Linked DNA regions of Homo sapiens: region 1 is linked to region 2. Evidence: promoter capture Hi-C in 16 types of primary human blood cells and fetal thymus (Javierre and others, 2016). All regions are on one chromosome and are shown on one strand. The core of a region is centred on a gene start or on the middle of the fragment in contact, and the rest is flanking DNA. Distances in the headings are between cores, read along the strand shown.

Region 1 (5,744 bases), core at 2,978-5,477, 310 kb before region 2:
GAGGGTCTTTATAATTCAGCATGTTTTTGCAGTGGCTAGTACCGGTTGTTCCTTTCCAAGTTTAGTGCTTCCTTCAGGAACGCTTGTAGGGCAGGCCTGGTGGTGACAAAATCTCTCAGCATTTGCTTGTCTATAAAGGATTTTATTTCTCCTTCACTTATGAAGTTTAGTTTGGCTGGATATGAAATTCTGGGTTGAAAATTCTTTTCTTTAAGAAGGTTGAGTGTTGGCCCCCACTCTTGTAGAGTTTCTGCCAAGAGATCCACTGTTAGTCTGATGGGCCTCCCTTTATGGGTTACCCAACCTTTCTCTCCGGCTACCCTTAATATTTTTTCCTTCATTTCAACTTTGGTGAATCTGACAATTATGTGTCTTGGAGTTGCTCTTCTCGAGGAGTATCTTTGTGGTGTTCTCTGTATTTCCTGAATTTGAATGTTGGCCTGCCTTGCTAGGTTTGGGAAGTTCTCCTGGATAATATCCTGCAGAGTGTTTTCCAACTTGGTTCCATTCTCCCCGTCACTTTCAGGTACACCAATCAGACATAGATTTGGTCTTTTCACATAGTCCCATATTTCTTGAAGGCTTTGTTTGTTTCTTTTTACTCTTTTTTCTCTAAACTTCTCACTTCATTTCATTCATTTGATCTTCAATCACTGATACCCTTTCTTCCACTTGATTGAATCAGCTGCTGAAGCTTGTGCATGCATCACGTAGTTCTCGTGCCATGGTTTTCAGCTCCATCACGTCATTTAAGGTCTTCTCTATGCTGTTTATTCTAGTTAGCCATTCGTCTAATCTTTTTTCCAGGTTGTTAGCTTCTTTGCGATGGGTTCAAACATCCTCCTTTAGCTCAGAGAAGTTTGTTATTGCCAATCATCTGAAGCCTTCTTCTCTCAACTCATCAAAATCATTCTCCATCCAACTTTGTTCTGTTGCTGGTGAGGAGCTGCATTCCTTTGGAGGAGAAGAGGCACTCTGATTTTTAGAATTTTCAGCTTTTCTGCTCTGGTTTCTCCCCATCTTTGTGGTTTTATCTACCTTTGGTCTTTGATGATGGTGACGTACAGATGGGGTTTTGGTGTGGATGTCCTTTCTGTTTGTTAGTTTTCCTTCTAACAGTCGGGATCCTCAGCTGCAGGTCTGCTGGAGTTTGCTGGAGGTCCCTTCCAGACCCTGTTTGCCTGGTATCACCAGCGGAGGCTGCAAAACAGCAAATATTGCAGAATGGCAAATGTTGCTGCCTGATCCTTCCTCTGGAAGCTTTGTCTCAGAGGGGCACCCAGTTGTATGAGATGTCAGTCGACCCTTACTGGGAAGTGTCTCCCAGTTAGGCTACTCAGGGGTCAGGGACCCACTTAAGGAGGCAGTCTGTCCATTCTCAGATCTCAAACTCCATGCTGGGAGAACCACTACTCTCTTCAAAGCTGTCAGACAGGGAACAATTAAGTCTGCAGAAGTTTCTGCTGCCTTTTGTTCAGCTATGCCCTGCCCCCAGAGGTGGAGTCTACAGAGGCAGGCAGGCAGGCCTCCTTGAGCTGCAGTGGGCTCCACCCAGTTCGAGCTTCCCGGCCACTTTGTTTACCTACTCAAGCCTCAGCAATGGCAGATGCCCCTCCCCCAGCCTCTTTGCCACCTTGCAGTTGGATCTCAGACTGCTGTGCTAGCAGTGAGCGAGGCTCTGTGGGTGTGGGACCCTCTGAGCCAGGCACAGGATATAATCTCCTGGTGTGCCATTTGCTAAGACCATTGGAAAAGCACAGTATTAGGGTGGGAGTGTCCCAATTTTCCAGGTACCGTCTGTCATGGCTTTCCTTGGCTAGGAAAGGGAATTCCCTGACCCCTTGCACTTCCCAGGTGAGGCAATGGCCTGCCCTGCTCCATGGGCTGCAACCACTGTCTGACAAGCTCCAGTGAGAAGAACCCAGTACCTCAGTTGGAAATGCAGAAATCACCCATCTTCTGCATCATTCATGCTGGGAGCTGTAGACTGGAGCTGTTCCTATTCGGCCATCTTGGAACCTCCTCACTTTGCTCATTTTAGTGTTTAGAAACACAGTCCAAATCAGAAAAGCTCAACAAGCCCTGCTATTATGCAAGAGCAAAAATATTGAGAAGGAAAACAAAATGGTGAATAAATAAAAGCCTAAAGAAAACTAGAGAGGAGGAAATGTGTGTTTTTCCCATCTGCCCTTATGGAGGAAAAAAAAAAAAAAAACCCTCTGCAAGGAAGGACTTAATTTTCAAGGGAAAACCTATAAACTGCTAAGCCACTGCCAAGTGCCTGCTCCCACAAACAGAATCATCTTCCTACAATAGGAAGTCATTTTCACTGTGCAATTTTCCCTCTTCTAGACTTGCATGCTTTATGCCTCTCTTGCAACACTTTATACTCATAGTAAAGGCTTTTGCTTCCAGGTCTTACCTTTCCATTATGAGAGAAACATTCTTCTTTTTAAGGCCTTTGTGGTCTAGATCAGGGTTATATAAAATGGAGGTTGTGATCCATTTGTAGGTTAGGAATTCATTTAGTGGGTCATAGTGTTTTTCTTTAACAAAATTTCATGCTATTCAGCAACCAAGTTACAGAATTTGAAATTATTTCTATTAAGAAATCTTAAAAATCTAAGTGACCTGAACCATTATGCCCCGGTGAGTGTATTAATTCTCACTTAATGGCTGTGTGTGCTCTCTACTTGAGGGACAACCACCCGTTCAACGTCATCTGAAGATGTAATTACAGTTCAGGCAGCCTCACAAAGTAGAGCACAGGTAACATCCAAATGCTACAGACAGTAAGGACTAGGGCACCTGGGGGTAGGACAGCCCCCGCTGGGCTGAGTCAGCGGGGAAGGTTTCTCTGAAGATGTGGGGTTTAAGCAGGGCCCTATAAAGCCTGGATTGGACAAAAGGAGAGGAGAAAAAAAACATGGTGCCAGCTGGCCTGGGCTGAATCTAAAAGAACAGAGGGACTGAAGGGGGTATTATAATAAGTTAGCCTGGAATTATATGGTACAAACTGGTAACCCTGGGAAAGCAAAGAAGGGGCAGAAACGAGGATGGAATCTTGGAAATGTCTTGGTGATTGACTGGATTTTGGTTTGGATGTGAAGGTGAGAGAATCAGAAAATTCCAAAGTTTTCTATCCCATGTGAACAGGAGAGTGCAACTGACCCTTGAACAACAGGGTGATTAGGGGCACCAACCCACCCTCCACAACCCACAAATGGTCAAAAATCTGCCTATAACCTTTGACTCCCAAAAACTTAATAGAACATACTATTGACCAGAAGCCTTACTGATAACATAAAGTCAATTAACACATATTTTGTATATGTATTATATTCTGTACTCCTACAATAAAATAAGCTAGGTAAAAATGTTATTAAGTAAATCTTAAGGAAGAGAAAATATATTTATTATTCATTAAGTGAAAGTGGATCATCACAAAGGTCTTTATCCTCATCTTCACTTTGAGAAGGCTGAACAGGAGGAGGAGAAAGAGGAGGGGTTGGTCTTGCTGTCTCAGGGGTGGCAGAGGCAGAAGAAGTGGAGGAGGTGAAAGGGGAGACAGAAGAGATGTATTGAAAAAAAACGTTTATAAGTGGACACGTGCAGTTCAAACCCATGTTGTTCTAGGGTCAACTGCAGTAGTATTCATAGTAATGTGAAAAATTCAGAGAAGTTTTAAAAAGAAGTGTTATGTAATAACATTAACATTTGCTATAGAAGTTAAACCTGTTTTGGACACCTGAGTTGTGCTGAGATATCCATATTAGGGACACTAAGCAGTACAGACAGAATCCCATTCTGTAGGCACTCACTACCTGGGAGGACCAAAGCTGATACTGAGCCAGTTCTTTTTTTTTTTTTTTTTTTGAGACGGAGTCTCGCTCTGTCGCCCAGGCTGGAGTGCAGTGGCGCAATCTCGGCTCACTGCAAGCTCCGCCTCCCGGGTTCACGCCATTCTCCTGCCTCAGCCTCCCAAGTAGCTGGGACTACAGGCGCCCGCCACTACGCCCGGCTAATTTTTTGTATTTTTAGTAGAGACGGGGTTTCACCGTTTTAGCCGGGATGGTCTCGATCTCCTGACCTCGTGATCCGCCCGCCTCGGCCTCCCAAAGTGCTGGGATTACAGGCGTGAGCCACCGCGCCCGGCCGAGCCAGTTCTTAAAATACTGAAATATTTCCATATGAGTTGGAGAAAAACTACCTGTGCAACACACACACACACACACACAGCCCTACTGCCACAGACCCTTTTTTAGATCTCCAGACCTAAAGAACGATGATACTTCAAAAGGCCTCAACTCCATGACTAGCTTCTGTTCCCACTGGCCAGTGTCTATGCCATATTGGTAGTACAATACTGGCAGACTGTTGACAAAACCAAGTACTAATGGTAGAAGAATAACTTCAGCTTGAGCCAGTTATTTGTCTGAAGAGCTGATGAAGGCACACACTGAGATACACTGATGGGTGGAGTCCTAGCACTCAGGCTGCTCACAGTCTAACAGGATACCAACATATAAATAAATAAAGCAATGCGATCCAGAGTAGCAGCATCGAAGTAGCTATAAAGTGCAATAAGAGGCACAAAGAGGATAGTAGTCAGTTACCCAGCCCATGGCAGGGAGGCAAAGCAGTTCCTAACAAGAGGTGATACAAGACCTGAGCAGTGAAAGATGAACAGGAGTTTGCTAGGGAGAGAAAGGAGGAAGACAAACCATTCCAAGCTGATAGACAGCAGCACTATGTAAGCCACAACCCAATATACTGTGTACAAAATAATGAAATGAAAAATGTGTAATGTCTGGCACACAGTGTCAATAATAAATAACAATAAATAATAAATATTAGAGTTTTTCTGGCAGATTTATTTCTCTGATTATGTTTTTAAAGGTTGATCCTAAAATATATTTGCATTGTCTAAGCCTACACTAGCTAAGCAAGGGATGGGCATTCAAGATATCCCGGAAGGCAGGGGTCAGTCAGTTTGGAATTTAAAAATAAAGCACGTAAAAATAAATTCACAACATCAATTAGTGTTGACTGCACTTGTTAGATGTGTGTAAGCAAAGATGAGACTTGGTGCTGCTGCAGGCCTCTCAGATGCACAGATGAGTGTGACCCAAGGTTGCTTAATGAAATCACAGAAGGGTGGTTGGTAAGTGTAAATTCCCATCTCTTTTAAAGGGTTGTTGTTTTTTTAGAAATTAGACTACATAAAAAGGCAAACCACAGCCTGTTTTAGTCTGCACTGGTCACTGTCATCTAGAGCCAATTGTTCAAGAGGAAGGAAACACTCAACGCCAAGGAGAAGAGAGTCATCACCGCTGCTTTCCAAAATTGTTGTATGAGCTGCTCCCTCAAAGGAAGAGGCCATCAGTGCTCAGGAAGAGGCAGAGATTTCCGACAGTTTTAAAGGACAGTGTCTGCAGTGTGACCCACAGTTCAAGCTGCATAAAAATATAAATTCACTGACAAATGATAACAAGTACTTCCTTACTTTCCTATCTGCTGAATCACAGCCATTGTTTGGGTTGTAGTTCCTGGTTTAAATTAGATTATTCAATCACAATGATGCTGGCCAAACATGCTGGTCATATGCCATCAGGAAAACTTATCAAAAATATCATTTGTGCTGGGCACAGTGGTTCAGGCCTGTAATCCCAGAACTTTGGGAGGCTGAGTAGGAGGATCACTTGAGCCCAGGAATTCGAGACCAACCTGGGCAACCTGTAGAA
Region 2 (6,128 bases), core at 2,736-5,235:
TTGCTAAAACCAGTGTGCTTTTCTTAGCTTCTTAATCTCTTCTGGACCACACTCACTTTATTGTTTTTGAGACAGAGTCTCGCTGTGTTGCCCAGGCTGGAGTGCAGTGGCGTGATCTCAGCCACTCAGATTTTGGATAAGGATTTCAGATTTTGGATAAGGACTGAAAATCTCAGATTTTGGATAAGGGGTGCTCAACGTGTATAATGTTATACAAAATAATTTCTTTCTGATTTTCACAGTCTCCTTTGTAAGATGTCCCTTTGCCCTTTTTTTTTTTTTTTCCCTGAGACGGACTCTCACTCTGTCGCCAAGCTGGAGTGCAGTGGCGCGATCTCGGCTTACTGCAACCTCCACCTCCTGGGGGTTCAAGCAATTCTCCTGCCCCAGCCTCCCACGTAGCTGGGACTACAGGCGCCTGCCACCACGCCCAGCTAATTTTTGTATTTTTAGTAGAGATGGGGTTTCACCATGCTGGCTGGGATGGTCTCGATCTCTTGACCTCATGATCCGCCTGCCTTGGTCTCCCAAAGTGCTGGGATTACAGGCGTGAGCCACCATGCCCGGCCTGTTTCTTTTTTTTTTTCTGAGACAGTGTCTAGCTCTGTTGACCAGGCTGGAGTGCAGTGGTGCAATCATGGCTCACTGCAACCTCAACCTCCTGGGCTCAAGCCATCCTCCGTCCATGGGCTCCTTTGTTTCCAATACCATTTTTTTTCCTTTTCTTCCTCAGATTTGTTGAGTTTCTATTTATTGTTCTTTTCAAACACCAGCTAATTACTATCATCAATTTTATTTGCTATTTCATTAACTTCTGCTTTTATTTTTATTATTTTTGAGACGATTTTATTGAGAAGACTTTATAATCTTGCTCTGTCACCCAGGCTGGAGTGCAATGGCATGATCTTGGCTCACTGCAACCTCTGCCTCTCGGGTTCAAGTGATTCTTCTGCCTTAGCTTCCCAAGTAACCAGAATTACAGGTGCACGCCACTACACCTGGCTAATTTTTTTATTTCTAGTAGAAACAGGGTTTCATCATGTTGGCGAGGCTGGTCTCAAACTCCTGACCTCAAGTGATTCACCTGCCTCGGCCTCCCAAAGTGCTGGGCATGAGCCACTGCACCCGGAGTCTGCTTTTATTTTTAATTCCTTCTATTTTTATTTTGGGAGATTTTACTTTTTCTGCTTCTCTGTTACCTGTTTCTGTTTCCTCTTCTAATCCTTCCTGTCATGTGTGTATCCTTTAAGGATTTGTCACGTGCTGTCTCATTTCCTCAGTAAATTTATCTACTACATATTGTATAGTGAAAAAAATAAAACCTTTACCATTATTATGTAAGTGGCTATAAACACTATATTAATTTGGAGTCAGTCATAGTGGGTTCCAATTCCTCAACTCCTACTTGTGTGATCTTGGTCAAATCTGAGCTGTTTCTTCATCTGTAAAAATAAAAATAACAATACAGATTAAGTTGGGTATTATTTGCAAATCATTTATCACAGAAACTGGCCCACATGAATAACTCGATAAATGCCTGGTATACAAAAGGCCTCAGCTGCCCCATGTCTTGTTTTGTTTTTTCTTTGAGGTGGAGTTTTGCTCTTGTCGCCCAGGCTGGAGCGCAATTGCGCGATCTCAACTCACTGCAACCTCCGCCTCCCAGGTTCAAGTGATTCTCCTGCCTCAGCCTCCCGAACAGCTGGGATTACAGGCTCCTGCTACCATGCCTGGCTAATTTTTGTATTTTTAGTAGAGATGGGGTTTCGCCATGTTGGCCAGGCTGGTCTCAAATCCCTGACTTCAGGTGATCCGCTCACCTTGGCCTCCCAAAGTGCTAGAATTACAGGCGTGAGCCACCGCGCATGACTCAGTTGCCCCATCTCTAAAAGTGAGGGGATTAGGATGACTAATCCCAAATTCACTTCCAACAGTGAAAAACTTTATCTTCAGCCTATTAGTTCACCTGCCTGACAGTTAACTCATCAACCCACCCACACAACAGTTACTAAGCCCTTCTCTTAAATGAAATATTCTAGACATCAGAAATGCCAAGATTTTAAGATACAGTCCCTACCTTCCAGAAGCTCAGGGTCCTTTAGGGGTGAGGAAAAATTGTTAAACAGATAATTATAATACAATGGGATAAGTGATCTAATAAAAGGTTGTGGGAATTCAGAGACTTTGAGGAGCTCCTGCAGAAAAATTCAAGACCTATTTTGGAATCCTAAGTCAGGTATTTATTATTTACTAGTGAAGGGGGAATTAATGAATTTTATAAGTATATTAGTCAAGAAGTTTATTCTTTTCCTTAGAGGTAGAATGAAATATAGCCCCCCACCCTCCGGAGGCCTGGGTTAAGAGAGAATATTAACCGCTTATTTCTCCTCTACGCACGGAGAGGCTTATCTGTGTTCCACCGTTTCACGTTCCTTGAGGCACCACGAGTTCCTGCTTCCCTCCCTAGCGCGCTGTAAAGTCACAAGGTTGATAAGCAATTGCTACAAAAGCATGCATTCCCAAGGATGTAAGACATGTGGTGTAACAAATGTAAAAGAATAATTAACTGCCTTTGTTCTTGCTTCTGCAAGTAGGCTTCCTGTAGCACCAAACTCCCGCCACAAATTGCTTAAAAGGTGATTGATCCCTTTGTTCCGGGCTCAGACTTTCTGGACCCCAGTCCGACTGAGCCAGTGATCACCTTAATAATAAAGGGTTGTCCTGAATTCTGTTTGGCCTCTCCCGTCTCTATTTGTCCCGCAACACTAGCAGTATATCCTCAGGCAATTAACTTTTTTTTCCCTTGTTTCTCTCTCTGTAAAAAGGAAGAGGAATACTTATTTTGGCAGGTTATAATAAGAATTGAGTCAAACTCATTTATGTTGGCATAAAAAAATGAACAAGAAAATATAAAGCACTTAGTACAATGCCAGGCAGATCATAGGAACTCAGTAGATGGCAATTGTAATATTACAAAAGGTGATGGAAGTCAAAGACAATTTACTGTACCTCAAGAGAGTAGCGGTAGGATCAGAAGAATTTCCCAAATGTGTTCACAGACCAAAACTGGGGGAAAAGCAGGGTAGTTTCCTGGTAAGACGAACAGCACATGACAAGGCAGAGATATTAAAAAGTAAGGTACGCTTCCAGGACGAGTTCATTATTCCTGAAGGGAGAAGGCAATAAGGGTGGAAAAACTGGGCCGAGAGGGGAATCCAGGTTGGTGATGCCCCTGGAGGGCAGGTAATTCTTACTAATTTCTGTATTTTCTGCTGCTGGCACAAAACGTGACCCATACGTTTGCAACAAATGGTGAAATAATTCATTCCTGTTGTTAAGCAATAGGGTTGTAGAAATATTTGAGCAGTAAACATGCTACAGTGAAAGGATTCTCGGATTTGGAGTCAGGAGACCTGAAGCACTCTTTTGACTAATGACCTGTGTTTTTTTACTGGTTTTACAACTTACCTGCTGCCTGGCCTTACCAAAGTACTGATATATTGAGTCTCTTGACCCATAAAACAGGGGTAACAACTAACAAGCGATTATTAAAGAGTTGGCGCTAGTAAAGTACGCAATAAAAACAGCGGCTGCAGCTGCTAAATTCTCCTTTAGGTCTTTTTCCATACTTGCGAAATGACAGGGCAACAAATTTCCTTCCAACCACCACTGAGAAAGTATACCACGTTTGCCCAAGGACAAAAAGGCCCCGCCCGGCCCGCGCCACACAGGTCACCTACGCAGAATGCAGTCCTGGGGGGTTCCACTTGTGTCGCTCAGCGATGGAGGGCGCGATCGATGACAGGCCACTCCAGAGACGGACCTAGATAGGTTCGCATGAGGCCGAGCCGAATTTCACCAAAAACCAGTTTACACCACCTCCCGATTTGTCCACACGAAAAGCCATGGAATAGCTGAGGGAAAGGAAACCGGAAGTAGCGTGGGCCGTGAGGAACGGGAAATGACCTCAGCACGTCGGAAGTGTACTCGTTTCCAAGGCGACGGCCCTGCTGCCTCTCCAGCCAAGTGGCTGGAGTCGGGAGGCTGGAAAGAGACTCCGAGAAAGTACCAGCGGAAGGCGGCCGCCGCTACGGCGATTCGCAGGGAGTAGCAGACGAAGACGGTGGCCGCCGCACTAGCCACCACGTGTGGAGGATAAACGGTCTACACGGCCATTCCGGCGCCGAGTCTAGGGAAAGAGTTAGCGACGACGGGGAAAGAAAATGTGAAGAGAGCGACCGCCGCTCCAGGGTCGCTGCAGGAAGCCTAAGTGCAGACGCCGGCTTCTCCCGCAGTGACTTGAGAAGGGTCAGTGAAAACCTCGGCCACTGCCGCAGCGTCTCTAGGGAGAGAGTTAGGGGAGATAGTGGCCACAGTCACAGCTGCTCTTGGGAGAGAGTTAGGGGAGACAGCACCTTCTGCAGCAGCGACGTGAATTTTAGTGAAGTTGGAGGCCACCAAACTACCGACTCCAGGGGAACAGCCAGAGAAGACCGAGGCCTCCGCCTCAGTGGTCCTTGGGAGGGAGTCAGTGACATTCGGGACCCGCGAACTAGTGACTTCGGGGATAGAGTCAGTGACGATCGCAGTCGCCGCTTCAGTGGCTCCTGGGAGGGAGGGAGTGTCGAAGGCGGCCACAGCGTTGGTAGTTCTTGGGAGGAAGTAAGTGGAGACCGCGGCTACGCAGCCAGCGACTCCTCTGGTGTGAGCGGCAGTGAAGACGCCAGCTACCGCTTCAGTGGCTTTTGGGAGAGAGAAAGTGAAGACGAAGGTTTCCGCTGCAGCTTCTGGGAGAGAGCAAGAGAGGACCTTGGGCCCCGTCCTAGTGACGACGGAGAAGAGGGCCGCTGCCGCTGCAGTGGCTCGTGGGTGAGAGCAAGTGAAGACCGCCGCAGCATCAGGGGCCTGGACTCAACTCCTCCCCAGAGTCGGAGGTGTTGCGCCATGCCCGGGGTGGCCAATTCAGGCCCCTCCACTTCCTCTAGGGAGACTGCAAACCCCTGTGAGTCAGACTGTCATTGGCCTTCATCTCTGTCGTATTCCTTTTCTCACTTAAGCCCGCAACAGCCTTAGCCCTTTCTGGCATTTCCTTTTCTCAGCCGTCACTCCCCCCTTTCCCTTTTTAATTTATTTTCAGGGGATACCAAAGCTGTTCAGCTCTCCCCTGTTCTGTATTATTTCCGCTTTCTTTCCTTTTTTCCATCCACACTATTCCTCCGAGTCTTCTTGCCCAGCTTGACATCAACTCTTGTTCAGTCTTAATGGACGGACCCTTTTAAGTTCTTCCTTGACTTCCCTGCAGCATTTGACCCTGTGGAGGTGACAAATTAGTACTTACTTAGTTTTCTTCTTTCACTCCATTGAGTGACCCTTTCCCTTACCGTTTTCTTTTCTTCTGCCATCTTCTTAAATGCAGCTTTTACCCCTTGATGATGCCATCATTGGTTCTCTTTTTCTTGTCATTTACTGTGACTTCAGTCCTACTGGTGGCCCTCAAATCGGTTACTCATTCAACCATCCAGTAAATATTTACTGCATATGCCTACTTTGTGCTCCGTCTTAAGGAACTTAAGAAGACAGGCACATTCTTTACCTTCTAGTGAGGAAGATAAATGCTGAGCAAATAATGACAAGTGAGATCAGTGTTATAAAGGACGGTAGAATGCCACTGATTCCAGTAGGGGGTGAGTATGGGTGTCAGAAAAAGCATTCTAATACAGAGACACACGTAACACTGAGACCTGAATTCCGTATCTCTCCTCGGAGCTGCAAACATATATATAGATATCTCCCTTCTGGAAATTTTCCTTGGGTACCTCAAGAGCAGCATGTCCAAAATGTAATTTTATATCTATATATCCTCTCTGTCCTTCAGTGTTTGCTGTCTCAACTAATGGCACCACAGCACTCAGATGATAAAGCCACACACCTTGGAGTTATCTTATTACTTTTCCCTTGTTTCACCCACTGTATCCATTCCAGTTTAGTTCATTCTAATTTTATTAATATTTGTTGAATCTTTCTCCTTTTCTTTTCCCAGTGTTCAGAGTCTCATTTTTTCTGGTCTAGACTATTGTAAACTGTATTCTTACATGATCTACCTACTCTCTCTCTCTCTCTTTTTTTTT

The links. Contacts are between HindIII fragments. The CHiCAGO score rates a contact against its expected background, and 5 or more counts as called.
Region 1: a fragment that was not itself captured here is called in contact with the fragment with the promoter of ANKRD42 in region 2 in 4 of 17 cell types (naive CD8 T cells, neutrophils, total B cells and 1 more); the score reaches 7.7 in naive CD8 T cells.

The regions. Positions count from the first base shown.
Region 1 is chr11:82,878,638-82,884,381 of GRCh38, forward strand. All of the region lies in intron 1 of PRCP (prolylcarboxypeptidase), which reads right to left. Among named protein-coding and RNA genes, the nearest start is that of PRCP, 19 kb to the right of the region's middle. The HindIII fragment of the contact is 5,939 bases long and covers 1,259-5,744 here.
Region 2 is chr11:83,189,727-83,195,854 of GRCh38, forward strand. It overlaps ANKRD42 (ankyrin repeat domain 42), which reads left to right and starts at 3,986. Exons shown (of 11, transcript NM_001300975.2): 1 at 3,986-5,002. The coding sequence starts at 4,945. ANKRD42-DT (ANKRD42 divergent transcript) reads right to left here and starts at 3,943. Exons shown (of 3, transcript NR_149009.1): 1 at 3,741-3,943; 2 at 1,329-1,442. RefSeq lists enhancers at 3,693-3,912, 3,973-4,082, 4,603-4,962 and a silencer at 4,217-4,395. The HindIII fragment of the contact is 14,061 bases long and covers 1-6,128 here.